Regions from separate parts of the Homo sapiens genome. Here all the other regions are linked to region 1. Evidence: promoter capture Hi-C in 16 types of primary human blood cells and fetal thymus (Javierre and others, 2016). All regions are on one chromosome and are shown on one strand. Each heading gives the region's core, a stretch centred on a gene start or on the middle of the fragment in contact. The rest is flanking DNA. Distances are from core to core; before and after follow the strand shown.

Evidence for each region. The method cuts DNA at HindIII sites, captures the fragments that hold promoters and counts their contacts. A CHiCAGO score of 5 or more calls a contact.
Region 2: a contact is called between a fragment that was not itself captured here and the fragment with the promoter of BLK-AS1 in region 1, in 4 of 17 cell types (M2 macrophages, fetal thymus, total B cells and 1 more). The highest score is 6.6, in M2 macrophages.
Region 3: a fragment that was not itself captured here is called in contact with the fragment with the promoter of BLK-AS1 in region 1 in 3 of 17 cell types (total B cells, naive B cells and M2 macrophages); the score reaches 35.3 in total B cells.
Region 4: a contact is called between a fragment that was not itself captured here and the fragment with the promoter of BLK-AS1 in region 1, in 8 of 17 cell types (fetal thymus, total B cells, naive B cells and 5 more). The highest score is 17.2, in fetal thymus.

Annotation. Positions count from the first base shown.
Region 1 is chr8:11,556,677-11,559,634 of GRCh38, forward strand. It overlaps BLK-AS1 (BLK antisense RNA 1), which reads right to left and starts at 1,589. Exons shown (of 5, transcript XR_948956.3): 1 at 1,214-1,589. BLK (BLK proto-oncogene, Src family tyrosine kinase) reads left to right here. Exons shown (of 13, transcript NM_001715.3): 9 at 1-161; 10 at 1,286-1,362. RefSeq lists an enhancer at 1,759-2,048. The HindIII fragment of the contact is 8,296 bases long and covers 1-2,958 here.
Region 2 is chr8:11,309,417-11,312,374 of GRCh38, forward strand. MTMR9 (myotubularin related protein 9) reads left to right here. Exons shown (of 10, transcript NM_015458.4): 6 at 111-272. Among named protein-coding and RNA genes, the nearest start is that of MTMR9-AS1, 15 kb to the right of the region's middle. The HindIII fragment of the contact is 1,350 bases long and covers 909-2,258 here.
Region 3 is chr8:11,710,016-11,712,973 of GRCh38, forward strand. All of the region lies in intron 2 of GATA4 (GATA binding protein 4), which reads left to right. Among named protein-coding and RNA genes, the nearest start is that of SNORA99, 6.1 kb to the left of the region's middle. RefSeq lists an enhancer at 1-890. The HindIII fragment of the contact is 9,957 bases long and covers 1-2,958 here.
Region 4 is chr8:11,428,459-11,431,416 of GRCh38, forward strand. The region is part of intron 2 of FAM167A (family with sequence similarity 167 member A); the gene reads right to left. All of the region lies in intron 3 of FAM167A-AS1 (FAM167A antisense RNA 1), which reads left to right. Among named protein-coding and RNA genes, the nearest start is that of FAM167A, 37 kb to the right of the region's middle. The HindIII fragment of the contact is 1,455 bases long and covers 818-2,272 here.

The DNA.
Region 1 (2,958 bases), core at 339-2,838:
GAAGGTGGCCATTAAGACGCTGAAGGAGGGAACCATGTCTCCAGAAGCCTTTCTGGGTGAGGCCAACGTGATGAAGGCTCTGCAGCACGAGCGGCTGGTCCGACTCTACGCAGTGGTCACCAAGGAGCCCATCTACATTGTCACCGAGTACATGGCCAGAGGTGGTGCCCCCCGCAGAGCCGCATCCTCAGAGCGAGGCGGGAGGGCCGGGCTTAGCAGGAGGAGGAGGGTCCGCTGCGGTGGGTTCACCAGGCCAGGGGGTCCTGCAGATCTAGGGCATGGCACGGTGTGGGGACAGGGAGGGATGGAGGGAGGGGGAGGGACAGAGGGAGGGTGAGAAACAGGAGGGTGAAGTGGTTCTGACAGAGCCATGTTCTCAGCCCAGGAGCAGTTCAGACAGCATTTCTGGAGTGCATCTTCTGTGCCTAGCACTCTTTGATGCCTGCTGGGAGGGACAGAGCATTGCAAAGTCAGACGAACACCAGGCCAGGCATGCAGGGACAGTACTAGATCCAGGTCTCCTGCCTCCTGGTCATGCAACCATTTACAACTGTGTGAATATTTTACAAGGATGGCCAGAGAGGTTGGGCTTGATGGCCTCTGAGGTCCACGGCGTGGCCAAGTTCTCATGCCACTTTCTCACCCTCCTATGACCCTGACCGCACACTGCTCCTATAGGATCCTAACATGCCCATGTTGATATAGCTCCCTAACAACTGTCACCAAGGGGCCCCCGGTCGGAGGCTGTGCTGGGGGTGCCTCTAGCCTGCCCCTAGGGCAAGCATCCATCCCTCCCAGCTTTCTGATTCCAGGGGGAGCTGCATTTGTCCCCTGCACCAAACCTGGGGGACAGTTCTCTCCATTCTGGTGCTTTCTTGCTGATGCCTGGTCCTCAGAGGCAGAGGGTGTCTGCCAGCAGGGATCAAGGGAGCGAGGCCAACACGGGGGGAAAGACAAGAAGGGGCATGAAACTTCGAGTCAGAACTGGGGTCCCACTCCCAGCTCCCGGCTGGGTGACTTCAGACAGGTCCCTGCACCTGGCTGAAACCTAACTTCTGGGCAACTGCTGGTATATTGGCTGCCTCCCGGGGTGCTGAGACTGGCATTTTGTAAAGTGGAAGGCACTCGGCAGCAGTAGGTAGATCCTTCCTGATGCACCGAGAGATCTGAGGGTGCAAACTCCCACTTCCCGCGCCCATGGGGAGCCACTCACACCAGAGAGAGGCTGGCACCACCAGGGGCGGGTCACTTTGCAGAAGGGCACTTGCAACTTCTCTTTTCTTAGGATGCCTGCTGGATTTCCTGAAGACAGATGAAGGGAGCAGATTGTCACTCCCAAGGCTGATTGACATGTCGGCGCAGGTTGGTGAAGTACCAGGTGCAGAGAAAGGGCGGCATGTGCCACCTGCTGCCCACAATGGCTGCTCGTGCCTTACCACCCCATCCTCTCAGCCAGCAGGAGAAGTCAGGGGGTACTGAAGGCCACCTTCCTCTAGGCAGATATCCCCAAGGTCACCCACTGCACTTGGACTTGCAAACCCTGGCCACTGTGCCTCCTGCCCCACGCAGCTGTGAGGGAGCCCAGGGAATGGAGCCTTAGACCCGGGCTGCTGTGTTGGAATGAGGCTATTCTGTTCCGAAGGAAGAGAGGGCGAATGAATGTCATGGGAAACACACAGAGTTAGCAAGAGTTCCATTGAACCCGGCAGGCAAGTGTGTTCTGTTGTGACCTCATCTCTTCCTTAGATGGTGCCCACAAACATCTCCTGTAGGACTTCCCATCCCAGGGGCCCTCAGCCTTTGCACAGCCCTGGCGTCGACCCCAGGCTGATGGGCAGGCCTGAGCTACACACAGATGCCAGGGACATGACTTCTCTGAGCCCTGGAGGACAGCCCCACCTTCTGCCACCAGGGAATTGCGAGTGCTGGACCTCCTTGGCTACCCAGGACTGGTCCTCAGTGTCCCTCACGTTCACATGCAGAACTTTCTGGACTCCATGGGGTGAAGAGCAGAGTGGAGAGGAGGGTTTTAGCCGAGAGCTCTAGCTGGCAGGAAGCACATCTGGTGGCCCTGTTAAAACTGGAACTCTCAGCAGAAAAGTTTTGGTCTGTGGTCAGCCTGTGAGGCACACACGTGCGTACACATACACACACACATACAGCTGCCACCGAGAGGAAACGCTCCCACCCACCGCCCACATCAGCCCTCCCACCTCGCCCCTCGCCCAGCCTTACCCAGTAGCGCCGCTGCAGGAACTGATGCCACAACGCCTTTTTCCGCTGAGGTGGGCAGACAGCCATCTGGGCAGGCTGGTTTTGGAAAATGAGTGCTGGTAACCGGCTTCAAACCCCAGGGCAGTGATAAGCCTGCCCACTGCTGCTGCTTCCTTTCCCCTTCCTTCTCTCACCCTCCGCTGTCTCCTATTCAATCCCCACTACACCCCCTTGGGAAATCTCGTGTGACCCAGGGGCAAAGGATGTGAAAAGCCATCGGAGTTTAATACCTGGATGTAGCCACAGAATCGGGGGTGAGGAGCCAGAAAATCAGAACTTCCCAGAAGGGCAGCCTCTAACCACATGCTGACCATGCCAATGGCTCTCTAAGCACACATGTACACACACACACTCTCACACACATAAAAACACAGACTCACACACACACGGACAAACACAAACACATACACAGACTCACACAGACACGCAAACTCACACACAGACAGACACACACACAGACACACAGACTCACACACACAAACTCACACAGACACACAAATACACAGACTCAGACTCAAACACAAACTCACACAAACACATTTACACAAACTCACAAACTCACACACACAAACACACACACAAACACGCAAACTTACACACACATGAGCAGACACACACCCGGCCCTTCTGGGCTCTTCTTTTCTTACTCCATAGGAAGCCATGCAAAGTCTCGCCAGACCTTTC
Region 2 (2,958 bases), core at 334-2,833, 250 kb before region 1:
ATTTTGAACTACTTTTGCTCTTAGATATGTTGGAGGCTGAATCTTTGGTTTGGTTTCTTTATCTTTCTATTTTCTGGGTTTGTTATTTTTTACTTTCTTACTTTTAAAAGGTATCACATTCTTCAGGAGAGCTTAATCAAACTTGTGGAAGCTTGTAATGACCAAACACATAACATGGACCGATGGCTCAGTAAATTGGAGGCCTCTAACTGGCTGACTCACATCAAAGAGATTCTGACAACTGCCTGCCTAGCGGCTCAGTGCATCGACAGGTAAAGTGCATTTCAGCGTTCCTGAGCGAAACATGGCGCTGCTAACTAGACTTTGTGTTTATCCAGACATATGTTTATAGATTATGTGAAAGTTTGCAGTAAATTACTGTGTAGGCTAGTCAACACCATCCCATTATTGATGAGGTGTGTGCCTAGAGTCTGGCATTTAATAGATAATGTTTGTTTCATAAATATGAACCAGGTAAATATACATGTCTTCTATGACACAAATTTTTAAGTACTAATGGACCCGTTTTTTTTTTCTAGTACACCCTTAAATCATGAATTTGCCAATTTTTTTCTTAAACTGTGAAATAGAATGAAAGGAAGTTTTCTTATTTTTTCTTAGAGGAGCGAACTTACCTCCTTACTTTTGAAATATCAGCGAAAGGAAACGTAATTTTGTTACACAGTAAAATGATCCTTTCTAACCTCCGGGATATCTTATTTCATACTACTTGATATGTGCGATTACATCTGGATCTCAAGTTGAGAACACCTAGTGGTAGTGATGTTGAGTATATGAAGTGATTTTAGTTCATATAGTTAATTCACTCAGTTAAAGGTTGCTAATCCTTGAGTCTTGTGGCAGAAGACTTGAACAGAGGCAGAAGGATTGGCACAAATTCTTGCAGAAGCTTAGAATGCCGTTTCTAAGAAGGGGATTCCACTGAAACAGTAGGTAGATATAAGTATTATCACCACATGGATAGATGGCACTTTTCTTTGAGACTTTAACTTGTTTTATTGATGCTTCCAAATTAGGGAAATATATACCTAATTTGTTATGGTTATAGAGAAATTCATAATAGAATGGGTTGCTGAAATCATGTGGTAAGTTAGCAACAGAGCCATCAAGGTAGAGTCCCTTGGGGTCAAGATTGCCAGGCTATCCCTGTTCTTTCTGTTTTAGGCGTTAGGTGAAGCCCATTTACCTAATAAACTGTGGGAATTAAAGACCAAGGTTCTGTGGCAGAGAAATAACAAATACATAATGATTTTGTTAATACTGAGGGTTTTTTTCTTTTTAACCTAAGTTTACCAGATTTCTCCTTACATTATGAGTACAGAGGCTTCTGTTTTTTTTATGAAACAGGAATTGTAATAAACAGTTAATCACCACATTTCTCAATTTTGCAGCTGTGACAGCATGATGATACAGATTAAGACATCCCTCAGTGCAGAATGCAGAACAGTTCTCATGATTTCCACCTTCATTTAGTTTGAGCTGGCCACCTCAAAGGCAGAGACTTCCAGACTCTTGGGAAGGTTCAGGGTTTTGGTTAATTTTGCCATGTTTGAGTCCCTTTTTCTGATATATATTGGCCTATTATTTTCACCTCCATACAAATTTGCCCTTATAATTAATTACTGAAAACATGAAAATAGAGTTTAAATGAATTGAATTCAGAATATCCCACAGATAATTAAGGTACATATGCAATATACACAGAAGCCTTAAAGTACATGCTCATCCCCTTCAGCCTAGTCATTAGGTTTTATCCTGAGAATGGGGTTAGCCTAACCATAAGTGACTTCAGGGAATCTGTTACTTTTAAATTAAGAACCCCCAAAGAATTCAACAGAAGACAAAAAGCTAAGTACATCATCTACAATGTAACAAAAATTGGCATAACCTAAATGTCCAACTATAGGATTAAGTAAATTGCAGTTCATCACTTAATAGGATATTACACACAGGCACACCTTAGAGATGTTGCAGGTTTGGTTCCAGAAAACCACAGTAAAGCAAGTCATGCAATAAAGTGAGTCACATTCATTATTAATATTTGGTTTTCTAGTGCATATAAAGTTATGTTTACACTATAATGCAGTCTGTTAATTGTGCAATAGTATTATGTCTAAAAAAACAATATACATACCTGAATTTAAAAATACTTTATTGGTATTTGAGGTTATTGGCCCTGGTAGAGGGCCTTGCCTCCCCATTGATGGCTGCTGACTGATCAGGGTGGTAGTTACTGAAGCTTTGAATGGCTGTGGCAATTTCTTAGACAAGACAGCAATGAAGATTGCCGCATCAATTGACTCTTCCTTTCATGAAAGATTTCTCTGTAGCATGTGATACCGTTTGATAGCATTTTTACCCACGGTTGAACTTGCAAAATTAGAGTCAGTTCTCTCAAACACTGCCACTGCTTTATCACCTAAGTTGATGTGGTATTCTAAATCTTTTTTTTTTTTTTTGTCATTTCAACAATATTCACAGCATCTTCACCAGGAGTAGATTCTATCTCAGGATACTACTTTTCTTGCTCATCCATAAGAAGCAACTCCTTATTTCTTCAAGTTTCATCATGAAATTGCAGCAATTCAGTCAAATCTTCAGGTTCCTAATTATTTATTTATTTAGGAGACAGGGCCTTGCTCTGTCACCCAGGCTGGAGTGTAGTGGCAGGATCACGGCGCACCGCAGCCTAGAACTCCTGGGCTCAAATGATTCTCCCACCTCAGCCTCCCAAATAGCCAGTACTACAGGTGCACACCACCACGGTCACCTAATTTTTTTTTTCAATTTTTAACAGAGATGTGGTTTCTGTTTATTGCCCGGTCTGGTCTCAAATTCCTGAGCTCAAACAATCCTCCTGCCTCAGCCTCCCAAAGTGCTGAGATTACAGGTCTGACCCACTGCACCCAGCATTTTGTTTTTTATGAGATGGGGTCT
Region 3 (2,958 bases), core at 204-2,703, 150 kb after region 1:
TAAATCCTTCTGCATTTGTTCTCACTTTGAAGAGTAAAGGCTACCCCTGCCAGGTTTCCAGTCTTGGGCTGGCTCCGAGAAGGGCCTAGGCTTTGAAGCGCTTTTAAATTGTCCTCTGGCCCTGGGTGGCCAGGGAAGGTTCCCGGGGGTGCAGCCAAATACACATCGCCGGCAAACTGATTAACCCTGAAAGTGGCGCCGAGGCCCGGTCTGTGGCTCTTGGTGTTCCCCTCCCCCTCACCCCTCTTGGGGGAGCCAGACGGCCACCCCCAGGGGAGGAGGGGCCCGGCCGAGCCTCGCCGCGACTTTTGCGAGATAGCGCGGCGACATGGCCACACAATGGAGCCCGCAGGCGGGAGTGCGGGGCGGGGCGCGGCGCCCTGGCCTTGCGCGCTTACGGGGTCCTCTCCAGGGCCCTCTGGGGCCTCTGACTTAAAATAGGGAGGACTGGGCCAGGAGATCGAGACCATCCTGGCCAACCTGTTGAAACCCCGCCTCTACTAAAATACAAAAAAAAAAAAAAAAATTAGCGGTCGTGGTGGCGCGCGCCTGTAGTCTCAGCTACTGGGGAAGCTGAGGCAGGAGAATCGCTTGAACCCGGGAGGCAGAAGTTGCAGTGAGCCGAGATCGCGCCACTGCACTCCAGCCTGGTAACAGAACAAGACTACGTCTCAAAAAAAAAAAAAAAAAAAAAAAAAAGGACTGGTCCAGGGAGAGTTTGCTTTGTAACCCCGACAATCCTGGAGGGAATTTGGTGTTTGGTTAAGGAAAAGAGAGAAGTTAAAAGTCATGAGTTACATCCAGCAGTGTAAAAACGAAATACCCGCCGGGCGCGGTGTCTCACGCCTGTAATCCCAGCACTTTGGGAGGCCGAGGCAGGCGGATCACAAGGTCAGGAGTTCCTGGCCAACATGGTGAAACCCCATCTCTACTAAAAATACAAAAATTAGCTGGGTTTGGTGGTGTGTGCTTATAGTCCCAGTTACTTGGGAGGCTGAGGCAGGAGAATCGGTTGAACCCGGGAGGCGGAGGTTGAGTGAGATTGCTCCACTGCACTCCAGGCCTGGCGACAGAGGGAGTATGTCTCAAAACAAACAAACAAAAAACCGAAATACCATGTGAATGCACACAGTATTCAGATTTTGAAATGTCAGCCATGCCATGTAGAGGTTGCTGATGAAGTGATGTTTCCCAAATTCCCATGTCAGCAAATGGCAAGCTGACCTCCCTGTGCGTCTCTCTGCCAAGAACTGCCACCTGCCTTCTCTGGGCTCTTCCCGGATAGCTTATGAAGTCCACAGCCTTTGAATCTGGCCTAGAGGGTGGTTTTTCTCTTCTGCACCCAGCCAAGTGTTTTAGGAGAGGTGCGGCTCTCTGTGAGGGAACACAGGGCATGTTGAACTTGTTGGCATTCATAGCTTCAGCGTGTTATGCAGGTGGCACTTACATAAAAGCAACTGAAATTAAAAGCAGTGCATGTGGCCAGGCGCAGAGGCTCATGCCTGTAATCCCAGCACTTTGGGAGGCTGAGGCAGGAGGATCATTTGAGGCCAGGAGTTCGAGGTCAGCCTGGGCAACATAGTGAGACCCCATCCCTACAAATCATTTTAAAAAATTAGCCAGGCTTGGGGTGGCATGCCTGTAGTCCCAGCTTTGGAAGCTGAGGTAGGAGGCTCACATGAGCCCGAGGCCACTGCACTCCAGCCTGGGTGACAGAGTGAGACCCTCTCTCAAAAAAAAAAAAAAAAAAAAAAAAACCAGTGCATGTGAATGTGCTTTTTATATGTTCTTCCCATTACTTGGGCTCTCCTACCTGCCTGGCAGCTTTAGTGAGGACCAGCATCACATAGTAGCTGACCCTGAGTCATGGAGGGAAGATGAGAACTGACCCCAGCTTTCTGAGGAGTTGCCACTGAGCCCTAAGATGGCCAGACAGTGTGGTGGGAGGAGCACAGGGTTTTAAAGTTGGGCAAACCTAGATTCAGTTCCAGGAGCCTCGTGTCATCTTGGGCAAGTTACTTACCTCTCTCGGTCTCACCTCTTTTTCTGTAAAATGGGATCATCATAACAATTTTTAGTGTTGCCTTAAATTAGAAAAGTAAGGTAATACTTTTGAAGAATTTGGCTTTAGCCCTTCATAAATGATGGTTATTTTATTGAATAGCCACTCACTGTCATGTAGAGTTACCAATTTTGCTGGTGTGCCCAGGACTGAGGGTTTTCCCAGAATGTGGGATTGTTCGTGGTAAACCTGGGACAGTCCCCAGTGAACGCAGATTGTTGGACACTCAATGTGAAAATGGGTGCATTACCCATCGTTGTGGTTTGGTAATGAGCTGAGAACAAAGAAGAAACAGCAGAGGAGAAGCAGCTGAGAGCAAAGGAGAAGCAGCATCATTCTTCCCTCTGCTGAGATTCTGGAAGTAGTCATTTAAGTGCTGCCAGCTTCATTTGGTCTTGAAGGGTGAGTAGGAGTTTGTCAGGAAAAGAACCAGCAATTTTTTAAAAAAAGAAATATTGACCATTTTATAGGAAAAAAAAGAAAGACAAAGAAAAAGAGGCCAGGTGCAGTGGCTCACACCTGTAATCCCACCCTTTGGGAGGCTGAGGTGGGAGGATTGCTTGAGCTCGGGAGTTTGAGACCAACCTGGACAACATAGTGAGACCACATCTCTAAAAAAAAAAAAAAAAAAAAATTAACTGGGCATGGTAATGCATGCCTATAACTCCAGCAACTCAGGAGGCTGAGGTGGGAGGATCGCTTGAGTCAGGGAGGTTGAGGCTGCAGTGAGCCGTGATTGCACCACTGTACTCCTACCTGGAGAACAGAGCAAAGACCCTGTCTCAAAAAAAGAAAAAGAAAAAGAAAGGATATACTCTGCTTTACTAATATGTTGTGTAGTACCATGAAATAATACAATGCAACCTGGCCTTTGATTTAAATAATATATTTGTCAC
Region 4 (2,958 bases), core at 295-2,794, 130 kb before region 1:
AGGGTGAAAAGAGAAAGAAAGCTGCAGCTTCAACAGGGATGGTGATTCCGGCCGGTCTCCCTGCTTGCGCTCTGAGAGAACATGAGGAGGGGGCTGGGAATTGCAACTTCCTCAGTGGGCTTTGGTTCTGAGGGCATCTCACAGCGTGAGCATCTCGCTAGGATGCACTATGGGTTCTCACATTTAGATGCTCACAATACATAGTGTGTTGGGATCCCTGCACACAAATCAACAAATTCATCTCCTGCCCCAAAGAACAGGGTTTGTCCCCGTGATGCGGGAGCCCTGGCTGTGCTGGGCCCATGCTCGGCTGCTCCCTGGGCCACACAGACATTTTGCAAAGGTGACTTTGCACCTTAAACACTAACTTGAGCCCCGATTAGGAGGTCACTCTGCTGTAATTGAACCAAATCCACACGAGTTCCCACAGACTCTGAAGAAATCTGAGCAAAATGTGCAAGAATAAGAGGCTTAATTTGTTTCTAGAATTTTTTTCTAGTTGTGATAAAATCCATACAACATAGAAGTTATCATCTTAACCATTTTTAAGTGTACAGCTCGGTGGCAATTAAGTACATTCACGTTGTCGCGCAACCACCATCCATCTCCAGAGCTCTTTTTATCGTTCTAAACAGAAACTGCATCCATCAAACACTAACTCCCCATCCCCCTCCTCCAGCCCCTGGCACCCACCCTTCTACTTTCTGTCTGTATGACTACTCTAAGAACCTCACAGAAGTAGAATCACACAGTATTTGTCCTTTGTGAGTGGCTAATTTCACTTAGCATAATGTCCTCTGGTTTCTGATGGCTAAGAAGCTTTTTATAAATTAATCTTTTTAGAGATTTGCAATGAAGATATGTCTTTGCTGGTCCTGTGTGGAGTTAGTCGGGAGGACGGCGGTTGCCCGGGAAGGCACAGAGGGCTGCGCCAGTTCAGGAGAGCAGGTCTGAGCTGGGACTGGAGTGCCTCCTCCTGTTTTCCCTTCAAGCTCTGCCAAGGGGCCCCCTGGAGGCGGGGATGACAACACAGCCCCGGCTGCAGCCGCACACGTTTGACATAGATTGTTTCATCATGTTTTCCCACAACTCTAGATGGCAGGTGTGATTTTAGTCTGTCTTACAAGGAAACTGTCTCAGAGAAGTAAAGGAACGGCTCATGGCCAGCCAGCCTATGGCATCTGGACCACACTCGGGCCTGTCAGCACCCAGAGCTGGAAGACTCTCCCAGGCTCCTGTCTGCTCAGAGGCGAGCTGGGCCCAGGGGTGGCAGAAAGGGAAAATCCACAGCCCTGGGTTAGAACCCAGGTTCAAGCTGAGCTCCACTCCTCACTCGTTGGGTGGCAAGTCACTGCCACCTGGAACTTCTGTGTCCTCATCTACAGAAAAGAGATAAGGCCTCTTCTCATCTCTTCTAAGGACAGTGAGAATGAAATTCGACAACAAATAGCATGGCAGAAAATATGAACTACGCTGGCCAAATCAAAGTAAGAGGTGCACCATCACTTAAGTCCTTTCTCTCCAGGCCAAGGCACAGAACATGGAACCCAGCAAGGACCTCCCAGTTTTAAGCCCTCATTAAAAGCCTGAAAAGCTGGCCAGGGTGACTCAACTCTCAGTGTGGGTTTCATGCTGTCTCTGGCAAAGGCTCTACCATAGGATGTGCCAATTTCCAGTCCCCGCTCCCAGCGTGGCCTGGTGTCTCTCTGAGAACAAAAGCACTTGCTGAATTCTCAGAGGTGCAGCCTGTAATCCCAGCAACCCCATAATTAGGGCACAGAACTTGTTGAAAGGGAAGAGATGTCATTGGTCGGGGGCTGTCCAAGCACTGTGGTGACAGGGTGTCCCCACCAGGCTTGGAAGAAGGGAAGGGCGGCAGCCACACGTGGCCCCTTTGAAACAGCTGTGCTTGTGATCTGTACTACAGATGTTTGTTTTTTTGGGGGCAGACAAGAATGCTCGTTAAGATGTGAGCCACTGCACCTGGGTGAAGTGTTGAAATGTTCTAAAATTATACGTGATGATGGTTGCACAACTCTGAAAACACTAAAAACCACTGAATTGCTATTTCAAATAGGTGAACTGTATGGTATGTAAAGTTTATCTCAATGAAGTCATTTTGAAAAATTTTAAACACCAATTAAAGAAAGAGAGCAAGAGAGAGAGCCAGGTTGTTTCTCAAGGTAGAAGGCAAACCCCCAAGAGCAGGATTAAGTCACTAAAGATGGTAATTAAATGGGTCTGGAAGAGGACAGAGATTTCCTTACTTCCAAGCTTTACGTGGTGAGGGGAGGGTGTGGCAAGGGGGCTGGAGGAGACGGCCAAGGCGGCCCTGGAAGAAGGACCCAGAGAGGAAAAACGCAAGGGGAAGGTCAGCCGAGGACATTCAGATCATAGAAAAGTCTAATGCATCAAGCCAGTGGTTTGCTGGGGGGTCTCTCTGGACCTGGGGATTTTCCTGGGGAGTCAGAAGAGCTGACTCCTACCCTCGGAGCTGGGTGGAATAAAACAAAAGCCTTAAGAAAGGTGTGGGAAACAGCATGGCGGGTCCCGGAAAGTTAAACAGAATTACCATATGACATGGCAATGCCACTCCAGGTACACACCCCAAACAAATGAAGGCAAAAGCTAGAACCTGGATTTGTACATCCACGTTCACAATCACCAATAGGCGGAACCAACCCAGTGCCCTCCACAGATGAATGGATCCACACAATGTGGCCTATCCATAAAGTGGAATATTATTCAGCCTTGAAAAGGAAGACAATCCTGGCACATGCCATAACATGGATGAATCTTGAGGACATTATGCTAAGTGAATTAGCCAGACACTAAAGGCCAAATACCGTAGGATTCCACTTAGAAGAGGTTCCTAGCGTAGTCCAATTCATAGTGATGGAAAGCAGGACAGTGGTGCCAAGGGCTGGGGAGAGGGGATGGGGAGTTAGCGTTTAGTGA